Linked DNA regions of Homo sapiens: all the other regions are linked to region 2. The links are contacts of gene promoters, found by promoter capture Hi-C in blood cells and fetal thymus (Javierre and others, 2016). All regions are on one chromosome and are shown on one strand. Each heading gives the region's core, a stretch centred on a gene start or on the middle of the fragment in contact. The rest is flanking DNA. Distances are from core to core; before and after follow the strand shown. Region 1 overlaps ARL6IP6 (ARF like GTPase 6 interacting protein 6). Region 2 holds the start of MMADHC (metabolism of cobalamin associated D). Region 3 overlaps ARL6IP6 (ARF like GTPase 6 interacting protein 6). Region 4 overlaps PRPF40A (pre-mRNA processing factor 40A).

Region 1 (3,035 bases), core at 138-2,637, 3.2 Mb before region 2:
TGCCTTCGAAGATAACAGAATCTTGTGACGTAGTAGATTGTTTTGCAGGCAGTATTACTGGAACATAAAGGAGCCATTCAGCTTGTAGAAGGGGAGAAAAAATTCCAAAGAAGAGCTAATACCTGAACTAAAATTGAGTATGAGGGATTTAGTGTTCTAAACACCTAACAGTATGCGCAGAAGCAAGAGACAATGGAGAGAATAGGAAGCTCAATTGTTTAATATGATCAGAATGAAAGACCTGGAAAGCTAGCTCTCTCCTCACTGGAGTTTAGTCATGGCTGTACTAGTCACAGAACTATTTTAACCTACCAGAAAATCTAATTCTCAATCTTTAAAATGAGGATAATAATTCCTTTCATTAGTGTTCTTATTAAAACTAAATGAGATAATATTAACAATTAGTTGTTGGCTGGGCGTGGTGGCTCACGCCTGTAATCCCAGTGCCTTGGGAGACTAGGCCAGGAGGATTGCTTGAGCTCAGGAGTTCAAGACTGTCCTGGGCAACTTAGTGAGACCCTATCTCTACAAAATAAAAATAAAAAATTTAGCCAGGCATAGCAGCACTCGCCTGTAGTCCCAGCAATTTGGGAGGCGGAGGCAGGAGGGTTGTTTGAGCCCAGGCAGTTGAGGCTGCAGTGAGCCATGATTGTGCCACTCTGCACTTCGGCCTGGGGCAACAAAGCAAGACCTCAAAAAAAAAAAAAAAAAAAAAAAAGAAAGGATAAAATCTCAGGATAAATAACAATTATCCAAGAAAAGATAACTGGCAACTTGTGGCAGGCCATGGTCAGACTTCCAGCTCAAAAAACCTTAAGAAAAGAAAACCTCTGACACTATGTCTGCTTTATCATCTGACGTATCTGTTGCTTTAGTAAACTTACACTTACTGCCTATGAGGGTACCATTATTTTTACTCCATTTTAGAGATGAGGAAGTTATAGCTTGGATATACTAACTGACTTGCTCAAATGTCCTTCTGCTAGGGTAGGTTGGATTTGGAAGCTACCTCTCCTGACTTCAAGACCCTTTTTAATTATATCAGGCTGCCTCTGGTAATTTATAGGTTGTTAAACAAACAAAAAGGGTTCCAAGTACAAAATTGGCAAGCACTGTCTCTCAAGTATTTCTTGTCAGTATTGCTCTGGGCATATGGACACTTGTCCCTCTTCAGCTACTCATATATAACACTGTAAATAGCACAAGCAAGAGCAGCTGGGCAAGGTGGCTCATGCCTGTAATCCCAGCACTTTGGGAGGCCGAGGCAGGTGGATCACTTGAACCCAGGAGTTCGAGACCAGCTAGGGCAACATGGCAAAACCCCGTCTCTATAAAAAATACAAAAATTAGCCAGATTAGCCAGATGTGGTGGCGCATGTCTGTGGTCCCAGCTACTCAGCAGTCTGAGGTGGGAGGATCGCTTCAGCCCAGAAGGCAAAGGTTGCAGTCACCCAAGATCATGCCACTGCTATCTAGCCTGGGCAACAAAGTGAGAACCTGTCTTTAAAAAAAAAAAAAAAAAAAAAAAAAAAAAAAAAGGTACAAAGCAAGCACTCATTAGCTGTATCACTTTATGGAAACAATAAAACCAATAGTTAATACAATTTCCTAGAGGATTTTGTTATATCTATGCATATCTCCATTCAGAACAGTAATGAAATATATCTTACACAATATGCATGTACTTTAACCCTTTACTTCAAGAAGCCGCGGTGCAATGCCATCAATATATTCATTAATAGTGACAGCACTGTAATTGATGGCTCTGAATAGTCCCCAGATAATGAGATTTCATGATACTCAAATATCAAGGCCAAGTTCCTGAACCATCTCTTTTGTCAGTAGCTTTTCTCTCCTACTGCAATTAGCCATCTGACATCTGTTTCATTAGTTCATGGCAATAAAGAATCTGATTCGACAAAGAGGCAGCTCTCCAAAATCTGTATCAAAGAGTAGTAGAGTCAATTCACTGTGCTCAATGTTAAATCTAGTCTGCATGGAAAAGAAATTTCTAATTTGAATACTAACTAACCCACTGTTTTTGACCTCCAAGGCTTATATATATGCCCAAGTTAAGAACCTGTAACACTCGTATATTATTTTATGCTAAAGATGTCCACATATACTTATTTCCAAGGAGGGAAAATCAGTGCTTGTATTTAGTTATGAGGATAGGCTAACTGTATTAAAGAAAACTGAGTGCTGCTGGAAATTTCAAATTTCAAGCAATTCAAACAAAAATCAACTTGTTCCCTTTTCTTGAATTGCATATTATGATTCAACTGTTTTATTTGTTCTCTATCTTCCTAACCCTCAATGTGAAGACGTCAGAGAAAAACCCTAATAACAATATTTTAAAGACCCAAACTAATGTTGAATAGAAAAGTAACATTATAATACAGGATGCCAATACTGAATCCTGAATGTTCCAGGAAATTCACATGTCAAAGTATTTTACTATCTGCTGCTCCCTACTACAGTTAACAACACACTCTCACACACAAATGTTAGCATCTAATTACATACAGAACGCTTTACATAGGAAGTAACACATGTAAAAGAGTAATAGATCATGTTACTCTCTAAAATAGTTACTAAAAACAATTTACCAAAAATTAATTCAAACTAAAATTAACTTGTTCCCTTTTCTTTCTCACTTACAATTTATTTTGCAGATTCCAGATTGCATTGTAAGGCAATACAATTTTTTTAAACAAGGATGCATATAAATAATGTTACATTAAATAAAAATTAAATTAAAAGCATGTTTTCTAAAATTGAGTGTCTGGATATTTATCAAATGTTATTTGTGGTTGGAAGAAGAAGAAATGGAAAGATGGATAATTCATAGTGATCAGACAATAAAGATTGATAGCATGAGGAAGGTAGCAGATACCCGCTGATTTGTATATTAACTGTGAAATAATGCAAATTCCCAATCTAATCTCATAGATTATATTTTAGCAGGCATTTGTGAAAAAAAGACACCACTCTTTACCTTGGCATATGCCTAGAAATCATGATATAACACTAAT
Region 2 (3,363 bases), core at 754-3,253:
TTTTTTAAAAAATCTTAGGAACTCAAAGAATCCCAGGAGTAATGCAGATTGTGGCAAAAGATTACAACTGTATTACGAGCATATAAAATAACTTCACTGAGGCCGGGTAGAGGTAGGAGGGAGGGCTGCTGACTTCAGTAACTTTGAAAATAAGTGGAATCTATAAGATTAAAAGCAAAAGAACTATACATAAGCATTGTACTCTAATTGGTAAATCTGTTTCTCACAGGTATACCTGATAACAGTTCAGAAACAACTATACATGTACTCTGAATACGGGTTGACGGTTCTGAATCCATTATACACGTAACCTGGAATTGAACAATTAGGTAAATGGATGGCAGATGATGAGAGCCAGGTGTCTCACACTGGAGTGGAAGGCTACAGACAAGCAAGGGGAGAAGGCTGCAATGATCCATATGGTGCTGGAATTGAACTGAAGATAACAGCTCTAGTATTTGAACCTAGAACGCCTGTGTAGCTGTCAAAGATACAGATGGATACATATATAAATACTTACAGATATGCGTATTTAGTCAGGTTAGCATATCCACAAATATTTCCTTGCTCTGTCAGCTGAGAGTGTCTAGAAGCAACAACATCCCAAATGTCCAAATCTTGATTTCTAATATCATTTTCCATTAAAAGTACCCTTGGCTTTTTGGGGAAGCAGCTGATTCTAGGATTGGGGCAGGGAATATACAAGATGAGCCTGGAGCAACTTATAGAAATTAAGAAAATGCTCAAGAAAAAAAATCAATAAACATAAAACGAGGAGGGTTTGTCAAAAAGACACAAATGCCAACTAAAGGAAATCTCAATAGCCAAAGCTGGAACCAATATGAACAACAAAATAAAGTAGTATTGGATTATAACCCAAAATGTAAAATAAATATCCATGAGTCCATACTGACATAAATGATTGAATACATAAATAAATGCAGTACAGACAAATCTCCCATGCAGAAGAATTCCAAATAATTCATGAAGATATTCTGTCCTCATAAAGGTGGAGTATAACAATTTCCCATTCCTATAGTTTGGGCTGCACAGAGAGATGTCCTTCCAAATAGTATAGTATGGAGAGGAAAAGAAAAACAGTAACTTCACAGTGGAGAAACCTGACAAACCCTACATAGGGAGGTGGAAGGGCTTACTAGATGAAACAAAGGGGATCTTTGTAGAACTATAAAACTTTTCTGTATGACACTGTAATAATGGTGATAAAGGTTAGCATCAACAGTAATAAGTCATGTTGATAGTATATACCCTTGATGTGATGTGATGAGAAGATCACTTTACCTTACCTCTTAACTCAAGAAAAACCCATAACCTCAGTTAATGCATGAGAAAAATACAGGCAAAACCCAATTGAAGGACATTTGACCAAATGACCAATAAGTCGCTTCAAAACTATTAAGGTTATCAAAAACAAGGAAAGTTTGAGAAACGGTCACGGTCCAGAGGAGCCTGGAAGACATGGTGATGTACTCCGGACAGGATCCTGGAATGGAAAAGAATACCAGGTCGAAAACTAAGGACATCTGGAATAAAATATGGGCTTATGGGCTTTAATCAATTTTTAAAAAAGTATTAGATACATGAAAATGATACACGATTTACAAATCAATCGCCTAATATTTATCGAGCATATTGAGAGCCTGGCACTGTGGTAGGGCTGGGGACACAGAAAGAGGTAAGTGCCCTATGCTCAAAAACAGCGATTCATGAAAAATAAACAACTATGACAAAAAGAACAGAAGACTGTATCTCCTGGAGGCAGTAAGGAAGGCTTAAGTTGGGAGGACTATCAAACGCATCAAGGAGTTACTGAAGATTAACTGACCCGCCTAACGCAGGTCGGAAGCCCTCCTATCCATCCACCCAAATCACCCCTGCCCCACCTTTTCTCCTCCCTTGCGTTTACCCAATGGCAGGTCGGCTCCACGTAGGCCTACTTTGCGCGTGCGCATCATCGTTTCGACGCGCTCGGAAGCAACTTCCTTTGCCTGCTCACCGCCAGCGTAGGTGCTACCACCGCTGCCGTCGCCGCCGCCATTTTGATGGCAGGAAGAGTCCGGTTCTGGGACAGCTGGAGACAGTGGTGGTGACTGGTACGGATGGTTTCCGCCCATGTTAGCCCCTCCAAATTTGCCCGTGTTAGGGTTACAGCCCTCGGTATTGCCCGTATTTTCACTGGGTCCCTGTCGTTGTCCCCAGCCATCCTGTCCGTCTGTCTTTAGTCTCTTTTCTGCTTCCTCATCTTTCCGATCAGCCTGAAGCTTTGCTTGGAGCTGTTGTTACGCAGCCCCAACTTCTGTTAAAGCAGCCGCTTCGATCCTCTGGACTGAATTTTGGCCACCCAGCCCCCATTCCCCTCCCGGATCTGGTCCGAGTTGTTTTTCCGCGGCTGTAAACCGGAAGGGCTCTGAGCTGCACTGCCGGCTCCGGGCTGGGGGATCTGTGCCTGGCATGGGGGCGAGTTCTGGCCTCCTTAGGGTACGGGGAGAGCTTGGACTTTGGTCCTGACGTGGTGGACGACACACCTTCGAAGAGTGGACGTTACCTCAGTTGTCTGTTGTTAGAGTTTAATCGATCACTCGTCTGTTTTGTTGTGTTCTTTCCCAGAAATAACTTTACCAAAGGAAAGCTATTTTGCGAACTATCTTCTCCAGCGGAGATGGCCAATGTGAGTAAATTATCTCTTAAGAATCAGCATAGTAAACTCGTTTGGGAATGTTAGGAATGAAAGAACGGGTTTAATTATGATGGCATTGGGTGGTATAGTGTTAGATATAATGTATCAAAAATGTCAAGGGAAGCAAGTGGTGTGAAATTATGTTATGCTTTGAAGATGGTAGCATTCTTTGCACTGCAAATACACTTATTTATACAATTTCATTTGTACAGATGTGGAAATTCAAGCACCCTTTCGGTATTTTTTAAATACAGCGTTTCAGTAAATATTAGAATCTATGTTTAGGCCCTTTTTTAGCTTTTGGGTTAGCTAAACTGAAGGGTTTTTTTAATCTTTTTTTCTTTTTTTTAAAACAGTTTCCATATTGGAAGTGACCTTCTAAATCCTACAAAATAAGAATAGGAGATACTCTCACACACCAGAGATATTTATTGACTGTAACTTTGCAGTGATTAGACACATCCTATCTATAGAATTCATATGTAGCGGTCATAAGACATATATAAAAACAGCTACAATTAAAGTATAAAGTAATAATTTTTTTTAGAACCTACACGAAGGTGCAATGCAGATTCAAGTCTTTGTGGAGAGGAGTTTGGGATCACTTCATGAGGGAAACATTTAACTTGAGGTTTGAAAGATAGGTGGGATTTGTATAGTCTAAA
Region 3 (3,142 bases), core at 467-2,966, 3.1 Mb before region 2:
AGGTTTCCTATTAAATAAGTGTTAGGCAATCAATTGCACACACTTCATAAAACTTCATAAGTAAACAATGGGATTAAACGTGACTGTATACTAGTAATTTCCAAGTCCTGGGTAAGAGATTCTGACATTTGAAATGTTTAAATAAACTGGTATACTTATATTATGAAATACAATGCAGTCATGAAAAAATGAGGTAGACCTATGTATACTAATACAGAATATACTCCAAAAGGCACTTTAACAAGGCTGCAAAATATACATGATTCCAATTATATTTTTCCTATAACAGTGAAAAAAACATGTATTTTAAATGACTATACATATGTAAACAAAGAGAAAAAGATGTAAAAAGACACACAGGTAGATCGGTGAAAGCCTTTGCTTTAATTGTTGGAATCTTTCCTGGTGAGATTAAATTACTTACGTAACTAATGCATTTTATGATACTAACAATGAAAATACAATACAATCATACACTGATGACAGGGATATGTTCTGAGAAATGCATCATTAGGTGATTTCGTTGTTGTTTGTACATCACAAGAGCGTACTTACAAAAACCTAGGTATATAGCCTACTACACACCTATGAGCTATACAGTTATATCCTATTATTCCAATGCTACAGACCTGTGCGGCATGTTACTATACCAAATACTGCACGCGACTGTAATACAACAATAAGTACTTGTGTATCTGAACATACTTAAATATAGAAAAGGTACAGTAAAAATACAGTGTAAAAGATAAAATATGGTACACCTGTATAGGGTACTTACAATGAATGGAGCTTACAGGACAAAGAGTTGCTCTGGGTCAATCAGTGAGCGAGTGACTGATGAGTGAAGGTGAAGGCCAAGGACACTACTGTCCACTACAATAGACTATTATAAACACTGTACACTTAGGTTACGCTAAATTAAAAAATTTTTCTCTTCATTAATAAATTAACCTTAGCTTACTGTAACTTTCTTACTTTATAAATTTTAAAATTTAACTTTACCCTTTTCTACTAACAGTTTAAAACAAAAGGACACTGTACAGCTGTGCAAAAATGTTTTTTCTTTATACCATTACTCTATAAGCTTCTATTTCTAATTTTTTAGTTTTTAAACTTCTTTGTTGAAATCTAAGACACACACACATTAGCCTAGGCCTACATAGGGTCAAGGTAATATCACTGTTTTTCACTGTCACATCTTTTTCCACTGAAAGGTCTTCAAGGGCAACAACATGCATGAAACTGTCATCTCCTATGACAACAATGCCTTCTTCTGGGATACCTCCTGAAGGACCTGCCTGAGGCTGTTTTACAGTCAACTTTTTTTAAGCAGAAGTAATATAATCTAAAACAATAAGAAGCATAGTAAATACATAAACCAGTAACATAATTGTTTATCAAGAATTATGTTATGTACTGCACGTAATTGTGCTGTATTTTTTTTTATGACTGGAAGGTTATATAAAACTAGATTGGTAATAGGTTGGTTTATACCAGCATCAACACCAACATGTGAGCAATATATTGTACTACCAAGTTAGGACAGTTGCAATGCCACTAAATAGGAATTTTTCAGCTCCACTGTAATCTTATGGGACCACCATCATACAGGCATATATGCAGACCACTGTTGACCAAAATGGTATGTGGTGTATGGCTGTACTTAGCTAACTTTAAAAGTTGTAAAAACTATTACCAGCTGGCTACTAATAAAACTTAGATGTATCATATGCATGAAACTAACCATCAATTTTTAAATGTTTATGTAAGCAAATGTTCTCAACTTTATTAGATTCTATAGTTTTCTAACTTGAGAGGATGACCATTATTTTAAATAATTTGGTATCCTCTCTAAATCACATTCTATAGATAGCTCAAGTCTTTAAATCCCTAGAGCAAAGTGTCTCTTTACACGTCAAAGCCAAGTGCAGGAGCAGAGGAAAGTGCTCTCTCCTCTCCTGCCAATGCAACATGAGCATAGTGGGTGCAGAGTGCATGGTAGCTATAGCAGTTACACTGGTTAAGGCCTTCACCCAATCGCCCGACCACCTGCAACCCAGACTGTAGCATTTCTACATCTTTCTGTTGAAACAGATGAGGAAGGTGATCCTCTGACAGATTAAGTGACTGAAATTTCAAAAATAAATAACACCTGTAGTTCCCAACATTGGTAAATCATTAGATTCACATGGGAAAATTAAAAAAAAAACCCAACACTTTTATTACAGATCATTTCAAACACAGGAAAAAGTTGAGAGAAGTATATAAAACTCATATACCCATCATCCAGCTTTAAACAATTAATTCATGGGCAATCCTGTTAAATTTATATTCTCCTCTGAAGCTTGTAATCTTCAGTATAACAGGGAAAACAGTCATCAATATTTTTATCATATAAGTCCAAAGAGGCTTTTTTATTTCCTTTATTTTCATGACACTTGAAGAATAATTTAGAGAGCAAAAAGACAGCAGGAAAAAAACTTTGTTAAAAATTTTCATAAGAAATAAATACAGCAAATCCGAATTTCAATTCCCAGTTTCCCTAAAGTCATGTACACCAAAAATGGGCACGACCTGAGTGCAAATAATTGCTTACTAACTTCATGTATGAATCTACAACATATCCATCTTGTAAATACCACTTCCAGATTTCAGATACATCTCAAATTGGTTACAGCTTGTCATTATTCCTGCTTTTTTTTTTTGCACTTGCGTCATTAAAACACAATGTTTGAAGGAATTTTTAAGCCTTTCATGGCTTATTTTGACGAAAAGAGGACAACAATCTTCTTTGCTCCATAATTTGTAACATATTTTCATTTTTAGATTACAAACAATTCAAATGGTCAACCCAATAATTCTTTTTTGCATTTTTTTTTCCAAATCACCTTTGTATACACATCTGCCCTTAGCATCTGTCCACTTACAAACAGTATCAAATAAATTAGGATGCAGACCTCATAAAAGATGAAAAAAATACTTAAAGTCTTAGGAAAGTCTTACTGGAATCCTAATTCCATCATAATTATTTTATTCTTTCGACCATAGTTGAGAATTGATGAGTAATACTAAAATAATGAAATAGGAGAATGTTTTGAGAAAGAACAATATGTGACCACTAAAATCCCAAAACGTATTTCAA
Region 4 (3,237 bases), core at 440-2,939, 3.1 Mb before region 2:
CTCTTTAGAGGGCCTGGTAAACAAGGTCCTTAGTCCTTTAAAGGAGTATTTGGACCCTTTATGGTTCTGGCCCCTTGAAGCTCTGTTTAGAAGTATATGGGTTTGGAGTCATCTGTTGGAAGGTGGATAACATAAGTTTTGTCTTTTGTTTTTGCTTTTCTTCATGTCTTCTCACATATACTTTTTGAGCTTCCCTGAGAAGTTCACTTAGGAGATGGTCTTCCCAATTTTCTACTTTTGTAATTTTTTTTGAGATGTCTGGCCATCTTCTAGTGACAAATTGGAGTTTTAATATTCCTTGCCCAAGGGGATCTTCTAAATTGAGGCCTGCATATTGTCTCATTTGCTCTTTCAGTCTATTTAGGAATCTCATAGGCCCTTCATCCTTTTTTTTTGTTATATATCAAATGCTTTAGAGAGATTTGGGGTTTGGGGTACTGATTCCTGAATTCCTTTTATTATCATCTCCCTTAGGTCCTGCATGTTTTTATTGTCCAACTGGGGGTCTCGGGCGGGGAATTTCTGGTTCACAGTAGGAACTTTTTGACTGGGAGGACACTCACGTTCCCAAATTACCATAGCAGCCCTACGAATCACACTCCCTTCTTTTCCTGAAAAGAGGATGTCCAAGATGGACATTAACTCTACCCAAGTGTATAACTGAGGTCCTAAAAATTGATCAGTTTGATCTGTCACTCCATAAGGGTCATCTTGCAGTGGCTTAAGCTCTTTCTTTAAATTCTGGACCTCTGAACTGATTAAGGGAGCATTCACGGAGCCAATGGTTCCCCCTCTTTATGGCATTTCTCTTAAGGGAAAGAGAGCAGGGGCTGACTCTTGAGTTGTAGAGGGGAAAGGGAAGTTCTGGATATCCTTTTTACATTGCTCTATTTCACACTGGAGTCCCTTTAGGGAGGGGTCCTTAGGCTGATAGGGGACAGGCTCCTGGGATGATAATTTCTAAAAGTCAGGATTGTAAGGAGGAGGAGTAACATGAGTAGGTGAAGGATCTAGAGTGGGATCTGGGGCAGCAGCGGCTGCCTGAGGAGAGGGGTTGGGGTCACTGAGTGGGGGAAGATGGTCTAGGGGATCCCATGTGCTGGAGTCTTTGAGCATTGGAACTAACTTACCTAATTTTTCCTTTTGTGATGCTAGATCAGGTTCTTTCCTAGTTGTCTCAAAGGGAAAAAGGAGGACAGGTCCCTGCCTCCAACAAAGAGCATAGTCCATTTCCTCTTAAGAAGCTGGGCTTTTATCATTGACATATTGAATCAAAAGCTGACACATCGCACTCTCATTTGACCTAAACTTTGGCCAGAAGATTGAGGGTTTGAGGATGGGTCCCTGAGTCCAAATAAAACAGTAATTGCTGCTGCTTATGTTTAGTCTTCTCATTATCTTTCCAGTCTTTTAACATGAGACCTAGGGGACTATCGGGGCAATATCTTTACTGCTACCTTTATCCTTTTTACTCCTTGTCTTGCTTAGGGTATTTCCCATGTCAGGTCCTAGTATTAGAGACTTCTTGCCTATTCTCTGGAGGCTTGTTAAGGCTCAGTCCCTTGTATTAGAGATTTCTTGCCTATCCTTTAACCCCGCCTCCTGGAGGATCCTTGCATCCTTCTTTTGCTTTGTCCACTCTGGCTACTTCCCTCGTGGGAATTTAGGCCCCTCTTGGCATTGGCATGCCGGTATGAAACCCACAGCAGGATCCGCCCTAAGCTGTATGAAGTGACCACAGAACTGCAGATAGGACCCACTCACTCTGCACAGCAGTAGTGCTTGGTACCATTCACACAAGCAGCACCGCAAGCAGTAGTGCTTGTGATCATTCACACACACTTTCATCCTCCAGAATATCCCAACCACCAAGGAAATACTTTGTCACCCCTGCAACATTTCTTACCTTGGTCTGTGCAGAGTTACCTGGTTGCTGCAGCATGTGAGAATCCTTTTGCCAAGCTGCTGGCCTGTATCTTTTCTTGTTGCCGAGAGTCTGGGTTTATTTGTTGCACTGGATGGGTTCCAATCTCTCACACTGAGGCCACTGCAACAAGGCGATGGGATGCGCCTCCCCACAAGAAGTGACCAGAGACCGGTTCCCCGGAGGAGAATGGGAATCCTGGGTGGGCCCCCAAATTGTTGGAAGTAAATGCTTGGTGTCACAAAGTGAAAATATACTCAGGCAAAAGTTTTCTCATCAAGGCAATTTACTTCTGTAGAAGGGTGTGTCTCGCGGATGGAGCAATGGCAAGAGCACACTGGACAAGGGAGGGAAAGGGGTTCTTATTCCTAACAGCTGGTCCCTACTGTTGTGTCTTTCCCCTATTGGCTAGGGTTGGACTGCACAATCTAAACTGACTCGATTGGCTGCTGTTTGTAATTGAACACAGATATCTAGGCGGGAAGGGGAAGGCTATGCGTTATGGCGTAAGACATGTCTAGGCATGTCAGGGCGCGGCAAGGGCAGGAAGGGTTAGTTATAGCATGGATAACTACAGAAACCAGAAAAACGAAGTGGAAGAACTGGGAATTAAAACCTTTTGAAGAGGAATTTATCATCTCTGTCATGATATTTTGCATTGGTGGATTTAAAAGGAAAGCCACTTCTGCTGCTTTCTTGCTCAGTGTACTCAAAGTGGGAATCTGAATCTTCTCCCAGTCTGAATGATTCTGTTAGTCATGAAGAACTAGTGAACACTGTCTTGAGTTGAAATTCAGTTTGCTCTGTCTTAGGCTTTGGTTTTTGTTTTTATTTTAACGAAAATCTTACATTTATCTTAGACTTTGATTTTTATTTTTTATTTATTTATTTTTTTTGAGACGGACTCTTGCTTTGTCGCCAGGCTGGAGCGCAGTGGCGCAATCTCAGCTCATTGCAACCTCCACCTCCCGAGTTCAAGCAATTCCTTTGCCTCAGCCTCCCAAGTAGCTGGGACTACAGGTGCGCATCACCATGCCTGGCTGATTTTTTGTATTTTGGTAGAGACGGGGTTTCACCATGTTGGCCAGGATGGTCTCGATTTCTCGTGATCCACCCACCTTGGCCTCCCGAAGTGCTGGGATTACAGGCGTGAGCCACCGCGCCTGGCCAACTTTGATCTTTTTAAACAAAATTCACATTACATTGTGAATGGGATCCTTGTCATTAGGTCTTAATCTTAAATTTAGGCTAAGACTTTTAAAACTAGCTTTTGATAAATGAATGAGCATTAAGTTCTTGTTTGCAAACACCCA

The links. The method cuts DNA at HindIII sites, captures the fragments that hold promoters and counts their contacts. A CHiCAGO score of 5 or more calls a contact.
Region 1: a contact is called between a fragment that was not itself captured here and the fragment with the promoter of MMADHC in region 2, in 1 of 17 cell types (total B cells). The highest score is 7.3, in total B cells.
Region 3: a fragment that was not itself captured here is called in contact with the fragment with the promoter of MMADHC in region 2 in 6 of 17 cell types (total CD4 T cells, total B cells, activated CD4 T cells and 3 more); the score reaches 10.4 in total CD4 T cells.
Region 4: a fragment that was not itself captured here is called in contact with the fragment with the promoter of MMADHC in region 2 in 1 of 17 cell types (total CD4 T cells); the score reaches 8.4 in total CD4 T cells.

Annotation. Positions count from the first base shown.
Region 1 is chr2:152,744,505-152,747,539 of GRCh38, reverse strand. All of the region lies in intron 3 of ARL6IP6 (ARF like GTPase 6 interacting protein 6), which reads right to left. Among named protein-coding and RNA genes, the nearest start is that of ARL6IP6, 27 kb to the right of the region's middle. The HindIII fragment of the contact is 4,628 bases long and covers 1-3,035 here.
Region 2 is chr2:149,586,415-149,589,777 of GRCh38, reverse strand. MMADHC (metabolism of cobalamin associated D) reads left to right here and starts at 2,003. Exons shown (of 8, transcript NM_015702.3): 1 at 2,003-2,114; 2 at 2,629-2,689. The coding sequence starts at 2,681. MMADHC-DT (MMADHC divergent transcript) reads right to left here and starts at 2,420. Exons shown (of 3, transcript NR_110240.1): 1 at 1,928-2,420. RefSeq lists enhancers at 1,957-2,276, 1,593-2,792. The HindIII fragment of the contact is 5,011 bases long and covers 1-2,284 here.
Region 3 is chr2:152,725,214-152,728,355 of GRCh38, reverse strand. All of the region lies in intron 2 of ARL6IP6 (ARF like GTPase 6 interacting protein 6), which reads right to left. Among named protein-coding and RNA genes, the nearest start is that of ARL6IP6, 8.2 kb to the right of the region's middle. The HindIII fragment of the contact is 1,260 bases long and covers 1,087-2,346 here.
Region 4 is chr2:152,700,600-152,703,836 of GRCh38, reverse strand. All of the region lies in intron 2 of PRPF40A (pre-mRNA processing factor 40A), which reads left to right. Among named protein-coding and RNA genes, the nearest start is that of PRPF40A, 15 kb to the left of the region's middle. RefSeq lists enhancers at 875-1,376, 1,649-2,848, 2,335-2,962. The HindIII fragment of the contact is 5,812 bases long and covers 1-3,237 here.